2 separate regions of the Homo sapiens genome follow, and region 1 is linked to region 2. Evidence: promoter capture Hi-C in 16 types of primary human blood cells and fetal thymus (Javierre and others, 2016). All regions are on one chromosome and are shown on one strand. The core of a region is centred on a gene start or on the middle of the fragment in contact, and the rest is flanking DNA. Distances in the headings are between cores, read along the strand shown.

What was found. Contacts are between HindIII fragments. The CHiCAGO score rates a contact against its expected background, and 5 or more counts as called.
Region 1: a fragment that was not itself captured here is called in contact with the fragment with the promoter of FDFT1 in region 2 in 5 of 17 cell types (neutrophils, monocytes, erythroblasts and 2 more); the score reaches 7.2 in neutrophils.

Annotation. Positions count from the first base shown.
Region 1 is chr8:11,901,973-11,908,120 of GRCh38, reverse strand. No RefSeq gene overlaps it. Among named protein-coding and RNA genes, the nearest start is that of CTSB, 37 kb to the right of the region's middle. RefSeq lists enhancers at 5,415-5,654, 5,388-5,889. The HindIII fragment of the contact is 9,699 bases long and covers 1-6,148 here.
Region 2 is chr8:11,798,281-11,804,120 of GRCh38, reverse strand. It overlaps FDFT1 (farnesyl-diphosphate farnesyltransferase 1), which reads right to left and starts at 1,380. Exons shown (of 8, transcript NM_004462.5): 1 at 1,190-1,380. The coding sequence starts at 1,288. LOC105379243 (a long non-coding RNA gene) reads left to right here and starts at 2,766. Exons shown (of 3, transcript XR_948962.4): 1 at 2,766-2,808. RefSeq lists silencers at 1,002-1,121, 1,332-1,581, 3,759-3,818 and enhancers at 1,652-1,811, 1,849-2,590, 2,591-3,333, 3,463-4,106. The HindIII fragment of the contact is 12,361 bases long and covers 1-5,840 here.

The DNA of each region.
Region 1 (6,148 bases), core at 2,428-4,927, 100 kb before region 2:
GGTACCAGGAACCTTTGGAATAGGGATCCCTACAATGGCAAGCCTTTCATGACCTAAAGGAAAAACTTATGTCAGCCCCAGCCCTGGGGCTACCCGATCTGACAAAGCCTTTTCCATTGTATGTGTCAGAGAGAGAAAAGATGGCAGCTGGACTTTTCACCCAAACTGTGAGGCCCTGGCTGAGGCTGGTGGCCTACCTCTCTAAACAACTAGACGGGGTTTCTAAAGGATGGCCCCCGTGTTTGAGGGCCTTGGCAGCAACTGCCCTGCTAGTACCAGAAGCAGATAAGCTGACTCTTGGGCAAAACCTGAACATAAAGGCCCCCCATGCTGTGGTGACTTTAATGGATACTAAAGGACATCATTGGCTAACGAATGCTAGACTCACCAAGGACCAAACTTTGCTCTGTGAAAATCCCCGTATAACCAGTAAAGTTTGTAACACCCTACACCCCACCACCTTGCTCCCCGTGTCAGAGAGCCCTGTCGAGCCTGATTGTGTAGAAATGTTGGACTCAATTGACTCTAGCAGACCTGACCTCCGGGACCAGGCTTGGGCATCAGTAGACTGGGAGCCATACGTGGATGGGAGCAGCTTCTTCAACCCCCAAGGAGAGAGAGGTGCAGGGTATGCAGTGATAACTCTGGACACTGTTGTTGAAGCCGGATCGTTGCCCCAGGCCACTTCAGCCCAGAAAGCTGAACTCATTGCTTTCATTGGGCCTTAGAACTCAGTGAGGGTGAGACTGTCAACATTTACACTGATTCCCGGTATGTCTTTTTAACCCTTCAAGTGCATGGAGCGTGATAGAAAGAAAAGGGCCTATTGAACTCTGAGGGTAAAGACAGAAAATATCCACAAGAAATCTTGCAATGATTAGAAGCAGTATGGAAACCCCACAAGGTGGCAGTTAGGCATTGCAGAGGACACGAGCGAGCTTCCACCTTGATGGGTTTGGGGAATTCGCATGCTGACTCAGAGGCTCAAAAAGCAGCATCTGTTCAGAGGTACCTTAAACCAAGTCCAAAGTTTGATGTTCCTTGGTCCACCCAGGCAATGAGAACTTTAGCTGATATCCCCCAGAAGGACTGGTATATATCTGGTTTACCTTTACTCTAGAGTTGTGACCTTTTGCAATCCTAGCCTCTTGTAGGGGAAATTTCCTATTCAACTTCCCAACTTTCATGGGCTTAAATATTTATTTCCGTCTGGCGTCATCCATGAGACTGTCAAAGGAAAGTCTAAATTTGTCAGGATCAAAAAGTGCCATCAAGGCAACAATGATTTCCAAATTCTGTTTACATCTCTCAGTTCCTATTTACGTTTCAATTTTGGCCGAATAATTCAGTACTTACGTGGGTAAATCCCCAAACTCCTTCCCGTGGCTGAGCCCTTTCCGGTCACATCTCTGAGCTCTGACTCCATCCTTCCTTAGGCCTGAGCTGCCTGCCACCTCCCAGGCCCCCACTTCTGCCCCCACAGCCAGGAGACTGCCACCAGCCACCCGAGGCCACCCTCTTGGCTCTATCTGCAGCCATGTCTGGCCCGGGCGTCTCTGAGAAGCTCCCAGGCTGGGGCCAATGGGCATGCAGGCAGCGTCATGGGGACACCGTGGGGAGACAGAGGGTGCCAAGGAGTGGGAGATGAAAACAGGAAGGTGGAGGTGATAAGGAGAGAGTTTCAAGGGAACTATAACGTATTTTTAAAAATACCAAGGCTTGGGGAAATCCCGGCCTAAAGAATAGCAGTGCCTGGTCATCAGGATCAAAGCAAAGCTGAAACACCCCTTGGCACAGAGCCGGGAAGAAGAGGCAGCTGTGTGCTGTTGGGAGTGGCTCCTCCAAGAGGTGGGACCATTCGTTCATTCAATCCAACATTGATCGAGGTCTTATTTTTTTTTTATTTTTTTATTTTTGAGACGGAATCTTGCTCTGTCACCCAGGATGGACGGCAGTGGCGTCATCTCCGCTCACTGCAAGCTCCACCTCCTGGGTTCATGCCATTCTCCTCCCTCAGCCTCCTGAGTAGCTAGGACCACAGGTGCCCACCACCATGCCTGGCTAATTTTTTTGTATTTTTACTAGAGACGGGGTTTCATCATGTTAGACACGATGGTCTCGATCTCCTGACCTTGTGATCTGCCTGCCTCGGCCTCCCAAAATGCTGGGATTACAGGAGTGAGCCACCGAGCCTGGCTTCAAGGGCCTATTTTTTTTAGGTTTTGCACAAGCACAAATCTGGCAGGTCCCCCTGGGCCATGGCACCTGGCGAGTACCCAGGTTTATTTTTCCTGGGCATCCCAGGCACACTGCTGCCTCCACACCTTCGTACTCACTTTTCCTCTGCCTGGAGGGCACTTTCAGTTATATCTACACATACCACTCCTTTCCTCCTCTTCTTTAGTAAAATGTCACCTTCCCTGCCCATTCTACTTAAAATTGCAGTGACACCCCACCCCCCCGTCTCCATATCTATCTTCCCAGTCCTGTCCCTAACATTTGGAAAGCCTGGAAATAGATTAAAAATGGGCTGGGAATGGGGGCTCATGCCGGTAATCCCAGCACTTTGGAGGCCGAGGTGGGCAGATCACCTGAGGTCAGGAGTTCAAGACCGGCCTGGACAACATGGTGAAACCCCATCTCTACTAAAAATACAAAAAATTAGAAGGCATGGTGGTATGTGCCTGTAACCCCAGCTACTCCAAAGGCTGAGGCAGGAGAATCGCTTTAACCCGGGAGGTGGAGGTTGCAGTGAGCCGAGATCACCGCACTGCACTCCAGCCTGGGTGACAGAGCAAAACTCTGTGTCAAAAAAAAAAAAAAAAAAAGAGTAAAAATGATGGTTTACCCCCTTTCTCTTCCCACACCCATTTTCATCCTGCACCTCAGTCATACAAGTGAACATCCCAGCTACATCCCCAGGAAACAGTCACCTCTTGACTGTACTTTTGGCTTACAGGTACATTCCACTCTCTCAGGGTCAGACCTATGGGAACACAAACAAGCCCCGAACATGGGTTCAGTGCCATTTGAGCAGGAACTCTTGAGGTCTTGGATAACCAGAGTGAAACCTAGAGAAGGATCTTGGGCTCCCAGGGGCCACATCCCCTTGTCCTGGCAGACTCTTTGCCCTGGAGGGGCTTAGAGAAGGGTGGAGCTTGGGGAAAGGGACCCTCTTACCCAGGTCTAAGGATAGGACTGTCCCTTCCACTTTATTTTTCCCCAAACACTCAACACCGTCGAACATACTATATATTTTAAGTATTTACTTTGTTTATTGTCTGAATGCCTCCAGTAAAATGTAAGTCCCATAGAAGGCAAGGATTTCTGTTTTGTTCACTATTATACTCTCTAAACTTAGTATCTGGCACATAGTAGGTGCTCAATCAATATTTGTTGAATAAATAATGGATTACCAGGTTTGAGGTTCCAGGATAGAAGATAGGCTAGAGGCACCTAGTCTTCATAAAACTCCTTTGTTCTGCAGAGCGCTTCTGGCAAGAAGAATGTTAGGTGCATGGTGCAAAACCCCATCTTTTCAAATCTGCAAACCCTAGAGAGGAATCTATGCATTCTGCTCATTTAGAAGATAGCAGCACCCAGGCACGGTGGCTCATGCTTGTAATCCCAGCACTTCGGGTGGCCGAGGCAGGCAGATTGCTTGAGTTCAGGAGTTCAAGACCAGCCTGGGCAGCACAGCTAAACCCCATCTCTAGAAAAAGTAAAAAATTAGCTACGCCTGAGGGTGCCATGTGTACCAATCAAGTGGAGAGTTCAGATGCATAAACCAATAGCCAAATATAAGACAATAAGTACCGAAATTAAAGTGTGGTCAAGGTATCATCGACAACCAGGTGAGAGGACAGTAAACGCTGCCTGTCTGAGTCACAGAGACCTCCAGGGCGGAGTGACATGGGCTGCACTTTGACGGATGGGTAGGAGCTTCCGCTTTCGAGAAGCTCAGTAACCGGCTGCAGAGGCGTAACTTCTCCACACTAAAAGGTGGTTAGTACACGTAGTCCATGTATGTAAAATACATATATGTATTTGCACAGAAAAATGTTTTTAAGTCTAAGTAATACATTAATTAAAAATTAATAATAGGGGCACAGCGCAGTGGCTCATGACGGGAATCCCAGCACTTTGGGAGGCCAAGGAAGGCAGATTGTTTGAGGCCAGCAGTTCAAGACCAGCCTGGCCAATATGGCCAGACCCTGTCTCTACAAGTATATATACATAAAATAGTTAAATCAGAATAGTGGAATAATTCAGGAAAGTGGGTGATACTTTTTCTTTACACTTTTTGTGTATAGAAGAGCACATATAATTAGAAAACATTAAGATAATAATACCCCACATCTACACATCCAATATGAACATTTGTGTGGATCTCAGGAGGGCTGGGGGAGATGCCTTCCAGGCACCACGGATGGTGTGGAGGTGGGAAACCGTGGAGATATTTCAGAGGGACAGTGAGCCCCTCTGGCTGAGTAAAAAGTAGATGGAGTCGGCCAGGCGCAGTGGCTCACACCTGTAATCCTAGCACTTTGGGAGGCCAAGGCGGGTGGATCGTGAGGTCAGGAGTTCGGGACCAGCCTGGCCAATATGGTGAAACCCCATCACTACTAAAAATACAAAAATTAGCCAGGCACGGTGGTGTGTGCCTGTAGTCCCAGTTACTTGGGAGGCTGAGGCAGAAGAATCTCTTGAACCCAGGAGAGAGGTTGCAGTGAGCCGAGATCGTGCCACTGCACTCCAGCCTGGGTAACAAAGCAAGACTCCATCTCAAAAATAAAAAAGTAGCTGGAGTTGAGGGTAGAAGAGGAGGCCAGTCTTGGTGGCTCACGACTGTAATCCCAGTACTTCAGGAGGCCAAAGCAGGAGGATCACTTGAGGCAGGAATTTGAGACCAGCCTGGACAATATAGTGAGACCTTCGTCTCTGCAAAAATTCAAAACTTGGCTGGGCAGGTGGCACTGGCTTGTCCCAGCTTCGCCAGAGGTTGAGGTGGATCACTTGAGCTCAGGAGTTCGAGGTTGCAGTGAGTTATAATCGCCCCACTGCACTCCAGCCTGGGTGACAGAGTGAGACTTGTCTCTAAAAAAAATAAATAAATAAAACTGGAAGAGGAGACTAAGGCCCAACTGCGGGGCCGTAAATTTCAGGCAAAGGCTTTTGGCCTCTGACCTACCTCCCTGGCATGGCTTGCAGCAAGAAGGTTTAGCTTTCAACCGGGGATGTCTCTCTGCACCCCGTTTCCCAGATGGCAAGAAGCTCAGACGTGGCCGAGCTGAGCCTGGATCCCATCTCTGGTGACTGCAAGGCCTGGGTAGAAGGGCAGGGCAGGGGCAGCGGAGATGGAGGTGCAGGTGCCCCATCTGCCCGCAGATGCCCTCCAGTCACAGACAGGAAGGTCCCGAGACATACCTCACGGGAGAGCTTCCCAGTCCCGCAGACACAGCCCCGGCCACAGACCCTACTCGCGGAGGGAACGCTTGCGTCACAACAGAAGCCACAGAGGCGGGCCTCAGGATGCTCCAACAGGCGTGTGTGTCGCCATCTGTCCTCGTGGGAAGGCTCCTCCCCGCCGGGATGGTGTCCACCGGATCGCGACCAAAGCGGGGCCCTCCCCACTCTCTCCGCCTCCCCGCTTCCTTGGAATGAGGTGGCCGCTGTTTCCCAGCTGCCCGCTTGGTGGCGCTGCCAGCATTAATCGAGGGCGGCGCCGGGCCCCGCAGCCGCTGGAGCTCGGTGGAGAAACGCTCCGTGGTGACTTACAGTGGCCCAGAGGCCTGCATCACTTAAGCCCTGCATTAGACTCAGATCCAGGCCTGGAGAGGCCTGTCAAACCCACATAAGGTAGATAGGACAGAAATGGTGGCTGTCCATCATTCAAGGACATGTGGTCCCTTGAGGTTATGAGATCCACTCAAGTTTCCTTGGCTCAAATATCCAGCAAGCCACGCGGGGCAATCTAAAGAGACTCATCTCGACAAAACATGAAAAAAATTAGCCAGGCATGGTAGCAGGCATATGTAGTCCTAGCTACTCCCGAGGCTCAGGTGGGAGGATGGCTTCAGCATGGGAGAAAGAGGTTGCAAAAAGGCATGACCACAGCACTGCTTTCAAGCCTGGGCGACAAAGAGAG
Region 2 (5,840 bases), core at 131-2,630:
AGGTCTTCACCTAGCTTGTTCACTGTTGTACCTCCAGCACCTAGAACACTATCTGATATACAACTGGTCGTCAAATATTTGTTAAATAAATGAATGCTATATCTAAATATAAAAAGTGACATCTGCCATATCAAATAATAGAAGTTATTCTGTAGCAAAATAATTCAAATAATGTAGCACCGGCAAAGAAAAGATGAAGAAAACTGAATGTTCTACAAATAGACTGAAGGATGTACCTGTATTAAAGATAGCACGTGAAAAATAACACCAAATGAGGGTGTAGTCTACTGGGGACAAAAACCAGAAATTTATTTTCTAGTGTGTTTACTGAAGCACATGGACACTGAAAGAAAGACTCCGATGTTCAGGCACCTATCAAGCCTCGGCCTGAGTCACATTTGCTACTGTCCTGTTGGCCCAAAAAAGTTACAGAAATCAGCCAGGCTGGTCCAGACCAGAAGAACTTGGCTGAATTTGTCTATTCATTCAATAATCGCGTACGAATAATTTTCTTGTTGGAATAAAAACACCTCCTATGCATTCATTAAACAAATAGTACAGGCATGAGGCAGATAAAAATCTAAGTAAAACCAAGTTCTGACCTTCCACCAACCACCTAGCTAATCCATAGACGTTAGATAACTCATTGGAACTTGGAAGCGTAGATAGGCGATTTTAAAACTCAGGAAGCACCGAGGATGAAGCGATGGAAGGCAGCAAGGCGGGGAGAGCTCCGGAAGAGGTGGTGAAACTGGAGGAGTCAGACTTCATTCCAGAAACGGCCTTCATGTGATGTTATCTGCATAGTTCATTCCGCTTACCAAAAAACTCACTCGTCCTCTCCCGCGTAACCCACCCACATTGCCTCAGATGTGTAACCCTCGGGTTAAAATACCGGTAAGCGCCGATGCTCACGGAGGGGACGAAACGGGGAGCGCAACCACCGGGAACCACGCAAAAGTCGCTCATGCCCAGGGCGGCTTGCGGGGGCAGGGACAGGTCAGCCAGGACGGCCGCGTCCACCCGGGCCCTACAGGGGGAAGGCTCGAGGAAAGGGGGACGGGAACACCCAGGCGTCGGCCCTGCTCGCCGCGCCCCTTGCCCCAGATCCGGGCCCGGCCGCTCAGGCCCTGAGGCCGGCCCAGCGAGCTCCTTCCCCGCCCCGGGCAAGCAGGGAGGCTCGGCCCACCTGGTCCATCTTGGGCATCACCTTCCGCTTGCCCCCGATCCGGAAGCGCACCAGGTTGTAGAACTCTTCGGGGTGGCCAAGGCATTTCACGAACTCCATCCTGGCGCAGGCGGCGGACTCCCGGGCGCGACTCTCACCTCTGCGGTCCCCAGGCGCTCACCGGCCGGCTGGACCTGTGGAGTAGGTGCTTCGAGGGGCTGGCCGGACAGGGGGCAGGCCTAGTACGGCGACGCCCCGCCCGCCGCTCCGCCCACTTCAACCGGCCTCGGCCGCCAGCGGGGCTAGCTGCGGCCTCGTGGGGTGGGCTGACGGGCGCTGATTGGCCAGGGCCGCTCACACTAGGAAGACCCCGGCCAATCAGTCGCGGAAGGAGACTGGCGTGATAACACTCTAGAAGCTCATTGGAGGCCGAGAAAGAGGCCGACGAGCGGGATTGGTGCCCTGATGGAGCCGGGCCTTTGTTTTCTTCCGCTTACCCCGGCTGGGAGCGCGAACGCTGTGGGGACTGGAGGTGAGGCGGTGGGGCTTAGGATGCGCAGGAGCCCAACGGTGGTCCGCAGTCGGGAGAGCAGTGCGGGGCTGCTTCCTCCCCACTTGGTCAATAAGTCGCCCACGTGTCCGGCCTCGGTGGCTCCTGCCAGCCGGGTGAGCTCTGCAGCCGCTCTCTGTAGAGCCTAAAACCGTGAAAAGGCCGGGCCAGCGCCAAGCTGGGCGTCTTTACTGTAACACACCCGAGCACAGCCCAGCTCGCCTGCCCGCCACCGCCATCCAGCCCCAGGGAGCCCCACACACTCCTGGAGCTTCAGCTGCCCCCTCTCTAGTGTTTACTTGAGATCCAGCTTAGTCCTAGAAAAAGGAGCTGAAGCCTTAGAGAGCCTGTAACAGGAATGTGGAAACTTCTCTCATCCTAGATCTCTCCAGCCCTAGAAACTACTGGCTACCCGTCCAGGCGTGGTGGCTCACGCCTGTAATCGCAACACTTTGGGAGGCCAAGGCGGGTGGATCACGAGGTCAAGAGATCGAGACCATCCTGGCCAACATGGTGAAACCCGTCTCTACTAAAAATACAAAAAAGCCGAGTGTGGTGGTGGGCGCCTGTAGTCCCAACTACTCCGGAGGCTGAGGCAGGAGAATCACTTGAACCCGGGAAGCGGAGTTTGCAGTGAGCCAAGATGACACCGCTGCACTCCAGCCAGGCCAACAGAGCAAGACTACGTCTCCAAAAAAAAAAAAAAACCTACTGGCTACCTAAGCCATCCTGCAGTCTGTTTTAACACAGCAACCAGTAATCCTTTTAAAACCTGTCAGGTCTAGCCGAGCGCGGTGGCTCATGCCTGTAATCCCAGCACTTTGGGAGGCCAAGGCGGGCGGATCACCTGAGGTCTGGAGTTCAAGACCAGCCTGGCCAACATGCTGAAACTGCGTCTCTACTAAAAATACAAAAATTAGCCAGGCATGGTGGCAGGCGCCTATAATCCCAGCTACCTGGGAGGCTGAGGCAGGAGAATCGCTTGAACACAGGAGGCAGAGGTTGCAGTGAGCTGAGATCGCGCTATTGCACTCCAGCCTGGGGGACAAGAGCGAGACTTCATCTCAAAAACAAACAGGAAACCTGTCAGGTACGTTCACTGCCCAAAGCTGTTCAGTGTCTCTCCAACAAAAGCCAAAGCACCTATAGGGATCCTGAGAGGCTGCAGCCTTCCACCCAGATTACCTCTCTGGCCTCCATCTCTTATGCTTTTGCTTTCTCTGGCCCTAGGACTTTTTGTCTAGCTGTTCACTATTCCTGCACTATCCCCCAGATACTGGCTTGACTAACTCCTGTGCCCCTCGAGTCTGCTCACACCTCATCTAGACCCACCTGTTTGCCCTCTCTCACATTTCCACCACTGCTAATCCCAGTGGGGGTCTACTTGCCTATATTTACCATATTCTAATACATCATTTACTTATGTATTAGATTACAGAGTGTTTCCCCTACTACTGTAAACTAAAAATCCTAAGTCCCTACCACTGGACAGCCCTCCCACTCCCCACCTCGGCCAAGGGAACCCCAGAAAAATCTTAAAAACTTAGTTTCCAGCCATGACGGTATAAAAAGTAAAGTAGAGGTTCCTCTTCAAAGACTTTCCTCCCCATTTAATTAGGAATAAATAGTAACTTCTCTTAGAAGCAAACTTTATTCAAAGACCTGTGCTAACATTCTTAAATATCTGCTAGCTATGATAAAGAAATCAATGTACTTCATGTTCTTAGCTCTCACAATTTAGCCTAAATATTTGCCCTGGCATGCTTATAGTGGTCCAAGAAAGCATTAGGTCATAGCCTGTTCCTCTTCCTTATTTGAAGGTGTTTCAACCTTTGTCACCATTCCACAAGTTACTTCCTCCTTCCTTTGTTCTCCTCTACCTTTGCCTCTTTTAAAAACTTCTAAGTTGCTAGCCAATCGGGACAAATACAGAACGTGAGGCACCGTTCCAGCCAATGGAAACTAGACACAAGCAGTGGGGTGGACGAGTCAGGTTATAAATGACCCTGTCTCCTTTGTTTGGTATACTCCCATGGCAAAACTGCTGGCGAGTGTACCCTTTCTGCAGGAAGTAAAAATGGCCTGCTTAGTAAATTAATGTTCAAGCGCCTTTTTTTTTTTTTTTTTTTTTTTTTTTTTTTTGAGACAGAATTTCACTCTTGTTGCCAGGCTGGAGTGCAGTGGCACAGTCTCGGTTCACTGCCACCTCTGCCTTCTGGGTTCAAGTGCTTCTCCTGCCTCAGCCTCCCGAGTAGCTGGGATTACAGGCGCCCAACCACCACGCCTGGGTAATTTTTCGATTTTTAGTAGAGACAGGGTTTCACCATGTTGGCCAGACTGGTCTTGAACTCCTGACCTCATGATCCACCCTCCTCGGCCTCCCAAAGTGCTAGGATTACAGGCAAGCCACTGCGCCCAGCCTTCGAGTGCTATTTCTTCTTCATTTTTTTTTTTTTTTTAAATGGAGTCTCACTCTGTCGTGAGGCTGGAGTGCAGTGGCGCGATCTTGGTTCACTGCAACCTCTGGCTCCCAGGTTCAAGTGAGTCTCCTGCCTTAGCCTCCCGAGTAGCTGGAACTACAGGCATGTACCACCACGGCCAGCTAATTTTTTTATTTTTAGTTGAGACAGGGTTTCACCATGTTGGTTAGGATGGTCTCAATCTCTTGACCTCGTGATCCGCCCGCCTCAGCCTCCCCAGGTACTGGGATTACAGGCGTGAGCCACGGCTCCCAGCCTACAAGTGCTATTTCTTTCCAGCACCAGGGAAAAAGCATTTCAAATAACGGGACAGGAGATCAGATAGCCCTCATTGTACCCCCTTCCTTTTGGAGTTCATACACAACTGGCTGGCATTAACATTAAAACAGAGATCATAAGACTAACGGAACAGACTCTGTGGCAATAAGATACCCAATTATAAACAGGACCTAAGGCCATGCAGGCAATGGTGAAGTCAGGCACCCCTACACTTGAAGAATCAACTAAGCTCTAACTGCCACAGGGCTCTTCTTTTTCTCCAGCAGCTAAACGCTGGCCTTGAGATAAGCAATAGTAAAACACCTGCAGCTCCACCAGACAGTGACTAATTGAACCCCTGTTCCACCAGCCATAACTACAGCTTTGACTGGTCAAGAGATTGATCTCAGTAACTTTCTCCTGATAAGACCGCCGACCGTGGACTGGTCTGGCCAGTTTACAGAAACTGTACACTCAAGGCGCCTTCCTGTCCTAAAAAGACCTTTTGACCTATAGGGTGTAATTGTAATGCATTCACATGTTGAGTCTCTATCCCAAAGTGAATATGGGTCATATATTACATACATGTTTGTTCAATGTGTCAGGTCCGCCATCATAAATATTCGTAGCTCCTCTTGTAATCTGTTAAATATGTACGTTTAGCCAACCCAGTCAGCATAAAGCTCCTACCTCAAACGCCTTTTCCTTCAAAGTGCCCGTCTGTGGTCTAAGCTGGAAGCATGCTGTAACCCTTTAGAAGAAATAAAGGCTCTTCTCCCTTTCTAAATTGATAAATCATATTTTTTAAGTCAACACTAGAAATCTAAGCTCAGTGACGACACACCTTTGTTTTGCTCACTAATGTCCCCTCAACCATCTGGAATAGTGCCCAGCACATACTGGCTCAATGAATATTTATTGGGTGCTCAATGAGTATTTATTGAATTGAGCTGCGTATAGGACACGATGGTGCCTAAACAATGCAAAGTTAGTTAACGTGCCCATTCTTTAAATCTCTCTTCCATTAAATCTGCTTCTCCTGTGGATAGCGTTAACAGCCTCTCAGTTTTGTAATCACAAAATCCAGGTGTCATTGATAACGCCCTTTCTCTCCTTATATCCACCCCTTCAAAATCATTCATCAAGTCCTGTGGAGTCCAAGAAAACAAATACCTTTCATTTTAATCTCTCCTCTCTGCTCCATCTTGGTTTAAGCCACATCTTCTTTCCCAAACCATGTTGAAGTTGACTTCCCCTGTCCTTTCCCATATGGCAGGTAGAGTTATTCGTCTAAAACACACACTGGGCTGGGTGCAGTGGCTCACACCTGTAATCCCAGCACTTGGGAAGACCAATGCAGGCGGATCACTTGAGGTCAGGACTT